3 separate regions of the Homo sapiens genome follow, and all the other regions are linked to region 2. Evidence: promoter capture Hi-C in 16 types of primary human blood cells and fetal thymus (Javierre and others, 2016). All regions are on one chromosome and are shown on one strand. Each heading gives the region's core, a stretch centred on a gene start or on the middle of the fragment in contact. The rest is flanking DNA. Distances are from core to core; before and after follow the strand shown. Region 1 overlaps LOC102723321 (a long non-coding RNA gene). Region 2 holds the start of GJA8 (gap junction protein alpha 8). Region 3 has its middle 19 kb from the start of ACP6.

The links. Contacts are between HindIII fragments. The CHiCAGO score rates a contact against its expected background, and 5 or more counts as called.
Region 1: a contact is called between a fragment that was not itself captured here and the fragment with the promoter of GJA8 in region 2, in 1 of 17 cell types (naive CD4 T cells). The highest score is 5.4, in naive CD4 T cells.
Region 3: a fragment that was not itself captured here is called in contact with the fragment with the promoter of GJA8 in region 2 in 9 of 17 cell types (endothelial precursors, erythroblasts, naive CD4 T cells and 6 more); the score reaches 7.4 in endothelial precursors.

Annotation. Positions count from the first base shown.
Region 1 is chr1:147,749,572-147,754,095 of GRCh38, forward strand. All of the region lies in intron 1 of LOC102723321 (a long non-coding RNA gene), which reads left to right. Among named protein-coding and RNA genes, the nearest start is that of GJA5, 8.8 kb to the right of the region's middle. RefSeq lists an enhancer at 1-4,199. The HindIII fragment of the contact is 2,801 bases long and covers 31-2,831 here.
Region 2 is chr1:147,900,551-147,905,441 of GRCh38, forward strand. It overlaps GJA8 (gap junction protein alpha 8), which reads left to right and starts at 2,245. Exons shown (of 2, transcript NM_005267.5): 1 at 2,245-2,311. The HindIII fragment of the contact is 6,753 bases long and covers 1,987-4,891 here.
Region 3 is chr1:147,687,094-147,692,186 of GRCh38, forward strand. It overlaps the pseudogene RN7SL261P. Among named protein-coding and RNA genes, the nearest start is that of ACP6, 19 kb to the left of the region's middle. The HindIII fragment of the contact is 2,806 bases long and covers 1,790-4,595 here.

The sequences.
Region 1 (4,524 bases), core at 181-2,680, 150 kb before region 2:
GGAGGACATAGGGACATGATAGTAGCAACAAGCTTGGATATTTCCCAAGCAGGGCCTTCAGAGCCACTGTCTGGAGAGGAGAGCTCTTTGGATAAACCGTTGTGTCTGTTGGAAAGTGGTCATGCTTTCATGCTCAGTGTAAGTTTCCATTGGTGCTGTATTTCACCATGCACAGGCAGCACAAGGAGAGGAAGAAAATGCCCTTTTGGAAACTAGTTTGTAGATAAAGTGAATCAGCAAAAGACAAGGTAGAATCCAGAAAAATAAGAAAGAACAACTTCAGTTCAACATGGCAGATGTTTTCCAGCATCTCTTGCCTGCCTAACGTTGTCCTAAATGTTGCAAGGCACAAGGTCTGGAGGGAAAGGTCTATCCAGGTAGACAAGACTCACACACAGGAAACCACAGGAATTTTTAAAAATCCCTATAAATGCTGGCAAGAATACTATCAAATGTCAGAATGTTTTTCCCTACACACATATACTTGTTCTAGCAGTGAAGGATACCTACTAACTTTGATGCTCCAGGCTTGGTCTGAATGTCATACTATTGTAGAATGAGGAAAGCTACATTTCAAACCGGAATCATTGGCTCAGTCTGGATTCTCCAGGAAGCAGGCCTGAGGCAAAGGCTGATGTGCTAACACATCAATAGAGTGTATAGTCTTAGGGGCAACAATAGGGAATGAGGTGAGAAAGACAGGTAAGGAGACAGACTCAATAGGAAGATGTGTCATCAAGCAGGACACTGCTAAGTGTCACTGGCTGCTCAATCCACAGGACCACACCCTTGAGTAGCCCTATCATCCAGATCTCAGAACCACCAGGGGAGTGGGACAGGGGTGGAGACAAACCCACTGAACAGAGGTTTGCCATGTGTTGCATTAGGCCCACACTTTAAGGTTGCCCATGTGTTGGGGAAAGTACTGAGCAGGGTTCTACCACTGCTTCCTTAGGGAAATCCTAGGGGAAGTCAGATGCAGTCAGCTGCACCCATGTGAAATTGATCCATATGGTTTCCAGACAGCTGGAAGAAGAGGCAGGTGAGGCGGAGAGGATCTGTAGTAAAGCAGAGAAGGGTCTAACACACCCATGATCCCTCTACTGCATAATAATTGTCTGACCGCAGTTTTCCTCTCTGAATCCCCAGGTCCTGGTGCTGCATGAGGCATACAGCAGGCCTGAATCTTACGTTTGTTAAATAAGTGAATGGAATAAATTTTGTTGAATGACTAAGACCTAAAGCCTCTTAGTCATTCCTGACTTCTTCCTACCACCATCCCCCACCCCATACCTGACCAGTCACCAAGTCCTACTGCCTGTGTTCCTAGCTCATGCTGACCCCTCTCCCAGCCCCACCAGTCTTCCCTGTCTCACCTGCTGCAACTCTGAAGTGTAACTCTGAAGTGTAGCCCTGATCATCCCACTCCCAACACACAAAGAAACTCAACAGGTCGTTACCACTTACAGAGTGAAAGTGTCCAGCATCCCCCACTGCGCATCCCACCTCTTGGCCTCACTCCCTCAGGGCTCCTCCCAGCTCCTGGAACACATCAGTTCCTTATCGGTTCTGTTGCTGGTGTTTGTTTGTTTGTTTTAATTTGTGTCATTTTCTCCCACCGGGAAGTCTTCTCCTCTGACATAGAAAATCTTATTCCTCTTTCAAAGGCAATTTCAAGTGCCACCAACTCTATGAAGCCCTTCCTGAGCTCTTCCTCCTCCCCAGGTTCTCCCGTTCCTCTGAAGACCTTCAGTGACATTTTTTCCTCTTACCACACTGAGCACTGCTCCCTGGTAATATGGCATTGTTCCCCTCCTCTACAAGGTCCCGAGTGGTTGAGGGCAGGATTCTCTCTTACAGATATCCTCCCAAACGGTGCCTGCCCGTGGCCCTGACATGGTGTGCAGTGGGCGGTCACCACACTGGGATGTGTAAGAAGGGTTCATGGGGGAAGCCTTGCCTCCCAATTCACTCTAGTGCTCTGCCATTCCCAGAGGCCACAGCTGGTGGGCCATCCGCTGTCACACAGTTGACTGCCAGAACCCTGGGGTGGGCACCTCCTGCTAACCATATCCCATTTAAGGGTGACAGTCTGAGCCCAAACAAAAAAATTTTCCCAGGCATGAGGATTGCAGAAACTGAAAGGCAGCTCCTGGCAGCCACCCCAGGGGAACACCAAATTTAGCCCAAAAGTTGAATATAAATATATTTTAAGTGTGTTAATTTCAAAAATAGCATCATTACATTAAAATAGTTTACAAAATTAAGAGAATTAAAGCACCCCCACCAATCCACCAAATTGCTTTCATTTTTGTTTGTTGCCCTCAAGTCTTTGCTCTTATAAATGCCTTTTTTTTTGAGATAGGGGTCTTGCTATGTTGTCCAGGCTGCCCTGGGACTCCTGGGCTCAAGTGATCCTCCCACCTCAGCTTCCCAAATAACTGGGACTATAGATGCGCAGTACCACGCCAAGCATAAATGCCTATTTTTGCACATCGTAATCATGCTACACATACAATTTTGTGTCTTGCCTTTTTACTTAAGAATATGTGATGAGCACTTAAGAGAAGTATAAGGCAGGTTTAAATCCCAATCCTACTGCCTAGTAGCTGTGCAAGTTACTGAATCTAAGTCTGTTTCCTTATCTGTAAAATGGGGTCAAATAACCTTGAAGGATTACTGTAAGGATGAAATAGCAATTCATAAAATCTCTTAGCACAATGCCTAGAAAACAGCAAGCACTTAATAATTGAAGGTGTATTTCATTATTACTATTAAAATATGTGAGGGTTTTTAAATTGACTTTTCCCCAGCCAACTACACCCTGCACAAGCTTTTACAATGGTTTCAAATGTGGAATTTTACCTCAAACCTTTGTAAATGTAATCCCCTCCAGGTTATATTTTATCACATTTAAAGACAAGTCCCAAGAAGGTATAAAATAACTTTCTATCCTGCCCCGTTAGCTGAACAGCAGCTGCTGCTGGAGGGGATTTAGCCTTGGCCAGGCTGCAGAGCCCAGGGCGATGAACACTCCTGAAAGGTTCCTGCTTAGTTCTCACTTTCTCTGAGAAACCCTTTGTTAGCAAGTACATGCACGCAGTCCCATAAGGGCCTTGAATCAGGGTAATGGAAAATTCTGTCAGGTTGAAGGGACTGAGGGGGCTTGAGTCTTGCTGCCAAGCGATGGCCTCCCCCGGGGCTGTGCTGCCCTTAGCTGAAGGTGGAGATAGATAAAGAAAAGCATTAGCCTCCAACCCCCAAATCATCTCCCCACCCGCCGGCTTGATGAGGTGCTTAGAAGTCTCATGGTTGTCATTCCTTTGGTTTAAGGCTTTGAAGGTACTGTATCTATAAACATCATATATATTGCCATGAAGAGCTTGACTCAGTTTATTCATCTGCAGCTCTGTAATTCTGATAATGGGCCCCACAAGAGTACAAGAGCCTGCTTGTACTCTATCCAAGACTCTGTCCTAGTGCCTTGCTTAGTAACCCAGCTACTAGGGTGAAGTTCCGCTCTGCCCATGTCAGACTCCCTTCCCTGAGTCTGGAAGTCCAGCTCCAAATCCAGATCAGGGTCTGGGGCCCTACTGCCAGCTGAGACATGTCCCCAGCAGTGCCTGCCTGCCTGTCTGGTGTCTTACACAACTTCCACGGCTTGGCTTCCCTGCTATGTGCTCCTCCACCCTCCCCATTCCCCACCTCTCTGTGTACTTGATGTTTTGCTGCTTTGACTTCCCTGATGCTAAGGCTACTCTGGGCCATGCCCTGCTGGCTCTTTCCCAGCCCCTTTGGATATAGTCTTCTTCCAACAAGCCTGGACTGTACTCCTTTCTGTCCCCGAGCACCCCTGCCTCCCCTCTCCAGCCCTACCCCACAGAATAGGCCTAGTTTAGAAGGCCCAAAGTGTGTTATCAGAATTGATACTGGTGGATTCTGACAGTCTTCCTGATCATGAAAAAAAAATAGGGCTTTTAGAACTTAACATATATTTTCTTGTTTTAATTCAGATCTTTTACATATGCCCCTTCTGCTTCCTTGAGTAAAAAGATTACTGTCCTTTGAATTTTTTGCAGAAAGAGGTATGTGTGTTTTGCTACAGTTGGCGCCAAACCATGCTGTTTTAGTTACTGCTTGAATTCTGTCTTTCAAAAATGTTGGACTAAACTGAGATAAGGGACAGCTGTATTCTGGAATTTTCTGGAAGGAATTTAGATTCACCCACCTGGGTTCCTCCCCTGCGCATCAGTGCCTGGCTTCTAAACTTTCACATCTCAGCTTCAATGTTACCTCCTCAGAAAAGACTTTCCGCTACCCTATCTGAATACTAGAATCTCTCAGCCCACCTTTGCTAACCCCTTGTTCCCTTCATGACACTTGTCACAATTTATTTTCTTTAGCCCTGGGTGTGGTGAATCACACCTGTAATCCTAGCACTTTGGGAGGCTGAGGCAAGTGTATCACCTGAGGCCAGGAGTTCGAGACCGGCCTTGCCAACATGGCAAAACTCCATCTCTACTA
Region 2 (4,891 bases), core at 995-3,494:
CACCACCCACTACATTAGCCAAGTTGGACTGGGAAGCCTTGGATAGGGAGAACTTCATTTTAAAGAGAAGCTTTGTAGATTCTTTTCTCTTCATAGGACTATATCAGGGAGAGCGCAAGCTTCAGGAATCAGCATGTACTGAATATTCCCAAAGAAAGAATGATTGGATTTTTTCCCCTCATCCTCTGACTTCTTACCTTATTGATATTGCAGGGATCAGCCTTGACCATCTATTTTTAACTGAAGGATTTGCTATAGGGCATTGTCCCAGTCAGTGTGGGCCCTCAAACTTGGGAGTTCAAAAGAAATCAGACATCTAAAGTAAACAAGGTTTTGGGCTAGTGACCATTTTATTTAAAATGGAATTGGGGACTCACACAACATTGGTACCATCCTCCTTCAAACTGCCCCCATCAAAATGCAATATGTCCATGACACCAGAAAGGACAGGAAGGGGGGGTGGGGTGGTGAAGCCAGTGCTTAGATTTTTTTTGTCTAGTTTGCCCTCCAAGTTGTCTTCAATTTAGTAATCATACATTGCAGATTTCATAAAACAATCTAAGTTTCAACTATTTTTGCTCCATTGTTTTCACGAATAAACTTGTAGGATAAAATGCCCCTATTTTTGGTTTGGAAATGTAGTCAAAATAACCATTTTTTATACTACCAATAGTCAGTCCCAGATGATGGGACGGGAGTGGGCCTCAGAGAGCATATGTCCATGCCCTCCAAGCATCATTCCTCATTAAGCCACATTAGAATTTAATCCAAGAGCCTCCTGGTGAGCAAAACCATCATATCCCCATTTAACAGATGAAGGCACTAAAGTCTAAAAATGTTAGCTGACATTGATTGAACTTCCGCTACTCAAAAGTATATGTAATTATAAGTGAAACGTGGTGAGAAAGGCTATTACTTTGACAAATGGCACCAGAATTCTTTGGAGTGTTAAGGCTCCTTTCAAAGAGGGAGACCACCCTGCTGAAGGTTTGTTTGTGTTTCTTTTTTATTGTTTTGATCTTTTTAGAAAGCTCTTTCCTTTTATGTTTAGTTGACACATAATAATTGTACGTATTTGTGATACACAGTGATATTTCAATACATGTATACAATGTGTAATGATCAAATCAGGATAATTAGCATATTCAGCATCTCAAACATTTATCATTTCTTTCTGTTGGGAACAATCAAAATCCTCTCCTCTAGCTTTTTGAGACTATACAATAAAATAGTTAACGGCCAGGCATGGTCGCTCATGCTTGTAATCCCAGCATTTGGGGAGGCCAAGGCGGGCAGATCGCCTGAGGTCAGGAGTCTGAGGCCAGCCTGGCCAACATGGTGAAACCCCGTCTCTACTAAAAATAGAAAAAAAAAAATTAGCTGGGCGTGGTTGTGGGTGTCTGTTATCCCAGCTACTCAGGAGGCTGAGGCAGGAGAATAACTTGAACCTGAGAGGCAGAGGTTGCAGTGAGCTAAGATCGTGACATTGCACTCCAGCCTGGGTGGCAGAGCGAGACTCTGTCTCACACACACACAAAAATATAAAAATTAAAATAATTAATTAATTAATGTTAACCATATTCACCCTACAGCACTGCAGACCACCAGAACCCATTCCCCCTATCTAGCTGTGCTTTTGTATCTATTAGCAACATGCTCCCCATCCTTCCTTCCGCCACTACACTTCCCAGCCTCTAATATCCACAATTCTGCTGAAGGCTTTGAGAGACAAGAGCAAACCACCAATAAAAAATGAAATATGGTCCTTTGGAAAGGACCAACCACTCTTGGTGTGACTCAGGGCAGAGGGATTCACACAACTGACCACTTACTGTCCCTACATCATTAAGATTCTCCCAGCTGATGATAAGGCCTTGGGAAAATGCCCCTAGGCTCATGCGCTCTGGAGAGACGCCAAAGGTTTACTGATGTACAGGCCCAGTCTGCTGCTAAAAGAAACTTTGGGAGGCACAGAAGCCCCAGCTAAGCTTTCACACATCAGCTTTCCCCATCCTCCTCCCCTCAGTGCCCAACACAGCTCTCCCATTCTCTCACTCCCATTGTTTCCCAAACATCCCTCCCTTCATAAAAGCTGTCTGGCTGGGAGCTTAAAATATTGCTGGACAGTAAAACCTACCCATCAGGGCCAATCCAGTCATATCTGCTCAGTCGTGCAGCACAGTAGGGGCGGGGTAGAGAAGTGGGAGGTGGGCTTTTAGGCAGCAAAGGAAAGAGACGAAAGTTGCCATTTTGCTGCTGAGCGCCAAGAGAGAAAGAGCACATATTTCTCCGTGGGACACTCCTTGTATTGGCAAGTTTTCCTTGGGTGATATTAGTTTGTAACCTTCCCCCCAATTGTTCTTTCTCAGCCTAATCTAAGGGCCATATATAGGCTTCTCCAAAAGGAAAAAGGTTGCCAATAAGATTCAGTCTTGGGCTGGGATGGCTAGACTTACACTCCAACTCTGAAAACCCTCTTCAAGTTGACCTAAGAACTGGCAGAGGTTTGGAAGGGAGAGGAATGCTGGAATAATCAGCAGGATGGGGAAACAGAGATGTCCAAACTCAAACTACAATTTGACTTCTTAAGCTCTTTTCATGTCTACAGGAATCCACAGGGACCTAAACCAAGTATTTGATATTTATGAAAAAGTTTTGTGCCCTTTTCACTCAAATTCTACAATAGAAATAATAGTCATAATTACTGAATGCTGTGGGGGTAGCGGAGGCTTCGTGCTCAGCATTTTCCATGTTGGAGCATTTAATGGAGCACAGGAAGGGATCTGGCTAAGGACCATAAAATTCCTCCTAGGAGCAGGTTCTGTTGTCTATCTATGAGAACTGCTGGCTAGTGGCTGTTCTAGAAACTAGAAAAGAGGCACTTTCCACCTGGTTACCAACCAGAGTGGTAAGTGGCCATTGAACGCTTTGGATAACTTATTAATGGATGTATATGTGTTATTCTGCCTCTTCAAAACCAGAGGAGGGCTATGCTGTAATGGGCTTAGATCTAGAAGACCAGGGCTCACAGCCTAGCTCTGCCCTCACTAGCTAAGCCCCCATCTTGGAGACTCATTTCACCTCCCAGCCTGTCTTTTTGTCTGGTAATGGGGATTGATAATGCCAAGTTCACTGGTTCTCAGACATCCATCTGGGGATCTGTCAGTTCTAGCTCAAGATGAAGGTTTCCACAACCTGTGACCAAAATGTGACAATGATAAAGTTAACAATGTAGTAAATGTTTCACCAAGTTAAGTGTGTTCAATTTAAAGGCTTGTCTTTTATTCTGAAGTTATGTCCTCTCCAGTTTTGTGGTGTTAAAATCCCCTTTTATGAAATGATGATGAAAATAGACTGTAGTTGTAGTTAGTAATTTAATAACTCTTTTTTTTTTTTTTTGAGACAGAGTCTCGCTGTGTTGCCCAGGCTGGAGTGCAGTGGTGTGATCTCAGCTCACTGCAGCCTCCACCTCCTGGGCTCAAGCAATTCTCCTGCCCCAGCCTCCCAAGTAGCTGGGATTACAGGTGCCCCACCACCGTGCCCAGCTAATTTTTGTATTTTTAGTAGAGATAGGGTTTCACCCTGTTGGCCAGGCTGATCTTGAACTCCTGACCTCAAGTGATCCTCCCACCTCGGCCTCCCATAGTGCTGGGATTACAGGCATGAGTCACCACGCCCAGCCAATAACTCTTATTTTTATGTCCTTGTTTGGCAAAATAAGGAGTTGGTATCCTTATGTTGGTCACACTAGTTTGTTATTATTATACTAGTCTGTGAAATCTAAGTCTGAGAACCACTGGCCTAGTTCACAGCTTGTTATGAGGACTGAAATAAGATACGTGAAAATGTATCACTTAGATCAAGGATACCCAAACATAAGGTGTTATTTTAATCATTACCTCTAGCCATCATTTTCTGGTGGGATGTTCCTGGCCATATATGGACACCCTGGGGTTGGAGGCTTGAACTCTATCCATTTATTTTCCATCTGTAATAGGTCTGTTCACTAAATTTTCACAAGCAAAATAAAACAGAGAATTATCTCTGAGAAAGAGAAGAGAAATAGTCTTCCTTTGGTTCAGATTTCTCCCTGCTCCCACAGAACGCTTTGCTTCTCTGATCTGACTTCCTTTAAATTTTCACTGTTAGAAGTCAGGAAACCAATACATTTCCCTTCGCAGCTCTAAAGTGTCTCTCCTTAACAGCACAGTAGGCCTGTTTCAACATCATGGGGTTGGAAAGATTGTGTCCTAAATTACAGTTTCTCTCCTTCAGTTATCACAAGAAACTGTAACTAGACATTTAAAAAAAAATACAATCTTAGCATGGCGGCTTAGAGTATAGAAAGACATGGGCTTGTTTGGCTTTGGTTTCAAAATTACTAATGAGTGGTCAGGAACGACTTCTTGTGTCATGAACATGTATCATGACACTCTTGTCAAGAATTGTTGGCCTTCCAGTTTATATATTTGATCTCATACAAAATAAGCAGTTTTGTGTCTCAGAGCAGCTGGTTGGGGATCAATTTACTATCCTTTTTGTTATTTACCATTTTTTACAAGTTCTTAATTTTTCTGCTGTTAGCTGTAGCAAGAGGACTGAAGTTCCTTGGTCTCTAGTATTCATATTACAGGAATTTGGGGATTGAGAATTTCAGATTTCACAAGGATTACTATTAGAACCATGCACTGCTGTCTATGGAGCTCCCACTCTGTGAAGGGCTTTGTTCTGTGTTGTGATGGTTCACAAAAGATGAGGCCAAAATGGTTCCTGCCCTCCAAAACCTTTTGATACTAAAGGGGGGAAAACAAGATTGGTTAACATACAGGACTGAGAGCATGTGCTCATCACACACATTCATGTGGGTATGTGAGTGAAATACACTGTCAAA
Region 3 (5,093 bases), core at 1,943-4,442, 210 kb before region 2:
CAAAGATGGAGGTGGGGCCTAATGGGAGGTGTTTGGGTCATGAGGGTAGATCCCTCAGGAATAGATTAATGCCCTCCCTATGGGGATATAAGATCATGTTATAGGCAAACAGTGAGTGCATTCTCACTCTGTTAGTTCCCATAAGAGCTAATTGTGAAAAAGAGGCTGTCGCCTCCTGCCTCTCTCTCTTGCTTCCTCTCTTGCCATGTGATGTCTGCACACACTGGCTCCTCTTCACCTTCAACCATGAATGAAAGCATCCGGATGCCCTCATCAGAAGCAGATGTTATCACTATGCTTCTTGTACAGCCTGCAGAACTATGAGCCAAATAAACCTCTTTTCTTCATAAATTACCAGCCTCAGGTATTCCTTTATAGCAACACAAATGGATGAAGACACCACCCAAAGCAATCCACAGATTCAGTGCAATCTCTATTAAAATTTTAATGACATTTTTCACAGAAATAGGAAAAAAACCTAAAATGTATATGGAACCATAAAAGACCCCAAGACCCCAAGACCCCAAATAGCCAAACCAATTCTGAGCAAAACGAACAAAGCCAGAGGCATCACACTACTTGCTTTGAAAATTTACTACCAAACTAGAAGAATCAAAAGTGTATTGTGCTGGTATAAAAACAGACACATAGACCAATGAAATGGAATAGAGAGCTCAAAAATAAATCCATGCATTTATAGTCAATTGATTTTTGACAAAGTTGCCAAGAACACAAAATGGAGAAAGAATATCTTCTTCAATAAATGGTGCTAGGGAAACTGGATATCCACATGCAGAAGAATAAAATTAGACCCTCATCTCACACCATATATTTATACAAAATTAACTCAAAATGAATTAAAATCTTAAATGTAAAACTTGAGACTGTAAAATCAGCAGACCAAAATCTCCATGACATTGGTCTGGGCAAAGATTATTTTGATATGACCCCAAAAGCAAAAGCAACAAAAGTGAAAGTAGACAGATGAAATTACATCAAACTAAAAAACTTCTACATAGCAAAGGAAACAATCAACAGAGTGAAGAGACAACATATAGAATGACAGAATATATTTGCAAGCCATACATCCAATAAGAGGTACAAAATATAAAATATAAAAGCAACAAATACAAAGCAAAAAAAATACAAAAAAATACAAAATATAAAAGCAACTCAAACAACTCAATAGTAAGAAAACAAATAACCCAAATAAAAAATGGGCAAGGGACCTGAATAGACATTTTTCAAAGGAAGACATATAGATATCCAATAGTATATGAAAAAATGCTCAATAACACCAATCAGGCTGGGCGTTGTGGCTCACGCCTGTAATCCCAACACTTTGGGAGTCTGAGGTGGGTGGATCACAAGTCAGGAGCTTGAGAACAGTGTGGCCAATACGGTGAAACCCCGTCTCTACTAAAAATACAAAAATTAGCTGGGTGTGGTGGCGGGCACCTGTAGTCCCAGCTACTCGGGAGACTGAAGCAGAAGAATCCCTTGAACCCAGGAGGCAGAGGTTGCAGTGAGCCAAGATCACACCACTGCACTCCAGCCTGGGTGACAGACCGAGACCTCGTCTCAAAACAAAAAACAAAAAACAAAAAACAAAAACCACTAATCACCAGGGAAACGCAAATCAAAACCACAATGAGATATATCACACTTGTTAGAATGACTACTATCAAAAAAGATGAAAGATAAGTGTTGAGGATGTGAAGAAAAGGAAACCCTTGTACACTGTTGGTGGGCATGTAAATTGGTACAGCCATTACAGAAAGCAGTATGAAGCTTCCTCAAAAAATTAAAAATTGGACTACAGTACCATATGATCCTGCAATCCCACTCCTGGGTCTATATCCAAAAGAAATAAAATCTGTATGTTGAAGGGACACCTACAATCCCATGTTCACTGTAGCATTATTCACAATGTTCAAGATATGGAACAACCTAAGTGTCCATCAAAGGATGACTGGATAAAGAAAATGTGTTATATGTACATAATGGAATACTAATCAGCCTTAGAAAATAAAAAAAATCCTCTCATTTATGACAACATGGATGAACTTGGAGGACATTTTGTTAAGTGAAATAAGTCAGGCACAGAATGACAAATACCACATAATCTCGTATGTGGAGTATTTAAAAACTCAAACTTAGCCAGTGGTTAAGTGGCACATGCCTGTAGTCCATCTACTCCAGGGGCTGAGGCAGGATGATTGCTTAAGTCCAGGAGTTCTGGGCTGTAGTGTGCTATGCCAATAGGGTGTCTGCACTAAGTTCAGCATCAGTAGTAGGTGACCTTTTTGAGAGCAGGGGACCGCTAGGTTTTCTAAGGAGGGGTGAACCAGCCCAGGTCAGAAATGGAGCAGGTCAAATATCCCATGCTTATCAGTGGTAGGATAAGCACTCCAGCCTGGGCAACATAGTGAGACCCCATCTCTTTAAAAAAAAAAAACAAAAACCTCAAACTTAACAGAAATAAGGAATAAAGTGGTACTTACCAGAGGCTGAGGGATGGGAGGATTGGGGAGATATTAGTCAAATGACACAAAATTTCAGGTAGACAGGAGGAGTAAGTTCAGAAGATATATTGTTCACTTTGTTGACTATAGTTAATGACAATATATTATATATTTGAAAATTGCTGAGAGTAGATTTTAAATATTCTCACCATAAAAAAAGTATCTTAGATTATAGATATTTAGATGATGGTTAATTAGCTTGATTTATCCATTTCACAATGTATACACATATTAAAACATCATGTTGTTGTATACCACAAATACATACAATTTTTACTGGTCAATTAAAGTAAAGAAATAAATAATTACAAGTATTGAATACTTAGTTTTACTGATCTCAAGTACTGAAAATATGTCAATACAAAACATACTGAAATACCAAAATACACTGAAATTATACTCCAGTATTTAAATGACCCTTCAGTTTGGTACTGGAGGCCCTTTAAATCAGCTTCCCGTCTACATTTTCCACTATTTCCATCCCAGAGATAGATGTTTTTCTCTATGTGTCCTTTTCCAAATAGACCTTGGATCTGGCTACCTCGATTCCTTTTATCAAGACCCATTTTCCTATTTCTATCTGTAATGTTTATATGAAACAAACACAACTGGTAGAATGGAATCTTAAAGCAAATTCATTTTTGACTGTCTCTTTACATCTCCACTGAGGGGCTGTTCTCCTTGACCCTAGGAAAAAACAGAGGTTGCCCCTCAGAGATATTAAAGGTACTCAGCCATTTTTAAAGTCACAAAACATGGTGGAAATCAGGAATTAAAATGGCAGTCATAGGTAAGAATGATAATTCTTAACCTTGAAGTTTCTCCTCCTCTCCTCCAGTTTGTACTGGCCACAGGCTAGAAGTCTGAAATTTGAAAGTGGGTTAGGGGATAATCTCATGATTCTTCTCCTTTTACCATCTTTCTAAAGCTGATTCTGACCACTCTAGGATCTGGAGCTTAGGAAGGGAGATCAATGAAGGAGTACTAGCAAAGTTCTTAGTTGACTGGTGCTGTGCAGGTGATCAAGTTGGTGCTCTCTGGCCTTTGCAGATGTTTAAAGCTGATTGCTCTTTTAAGGGATTTTCATGGGTTGCTCTGAGACTCTTCCTTTTCCCCACCTTTCTGCAGCCTTAGGTATCCAGCAGCAGTTCATCTCCAGCTTTCCTGTATTGAGGCTCCTCACTCCTGCAGGAGGTCATTATAAACACGGGCTAAGCAACACCACACAACTCCCTTTCCCTCATGGGCCACATCTGGTCCATAGGAAACATGTTTGTCCAGGAAAACTCTGGGAATGCAGCCCCTTCCCCATAACTCAGCACTCTGGATTTAGATTTCTCAAGCATGAACCAGTCAGAAGTCCCCTGTGTCCCTCAAACTTTAGAAGACACATATTAAGCTCCACGGATGGTTCCATAAAAGTTCTGTCCTTTGGTTTGATTTAAGGAGCAGATATCCCTCCTTCCCACCCCCACCCTCTTTCTCCCCCTTTCTCCTCTCCTCTCCTGTCCTTTCCTCTCTTCTTCTCTCCCCTTTTTCCCCCATAATGAGAAGGATAGAATTCTTGGAACCCAATACTTCCCTCCAAAGAAATCCTTTTCAAAAGTCTTCCTGATCTCCAATTCAGCATCCCTTTACGCCATCAGTGTGGGTAATCATTTAAGAGTTACCAACCCAGGGCTAGGCACGGTGGCTCACGCCTGTAATCCCAGCACTTTGGGGGGTCGAGGCTGGCAGATCATGGGGTCAAGAGATCGAGACCATCCTGGCCAACATGGTGAAACCCCGTCTCTACTGAAAATACAAAAATTAGCCAGGTGTGGTGGCACGCGCCTGTAGTCTCAGCTACTTGGAAGCTGAGGCAGGAGAATCGCTTGAACCCAGGAGAAGGAGGTTGCATGGAGCTGAGACCACGCCACTACACTCCAGTCTGATGACAGAGAGAGACTCCATCTCAAAGAAAAAAATAATAAAAAAAGAGTTACCAACCCTTCCACCCCTTTTTACCACCTACTTTGAAAGTGTTTGCATTTTGGTCCAACACATAGCTCTAGAATGTGCCTTAGCTGAAGCTTTCCTTTTAACATCTTGTTACATCCCTAAAGCTCACTTTTATACAACTATCTTTTAAAAAAATCTTCCCCATCACACTCAGGTAGTAATTTTTACTTCTTTGAACTATTAGGTGTCGATCATTATGCCGTTTACATAGCACTTATTTTCTTCCTTGCTTTGTAGGTATTTAAGTCTACTTATTTTTGTCAAAAATATATAAGTTCCTCAAAGGTAGAGACTATGCCTCTTTCATTTTTATATCACAAAAAACTTACACACAGTTTATATGTACTATTTATTATATTTATAAATGGATTGCTCAGTATTACTGCAGATTGTAAAAGTCTTGGAAAATATCTTCAATTCAACATATATTTATTGAATATGTGCTGAATTTCAAGCACTGTGCCCAGTTGAGGATACGGACATGGACAAGACATAATCCTGCTTCTGAAGAGCTTACTATTATCAGAGGAGGCTGGCATACATGAAAAATTGCATTAGTCCACAATA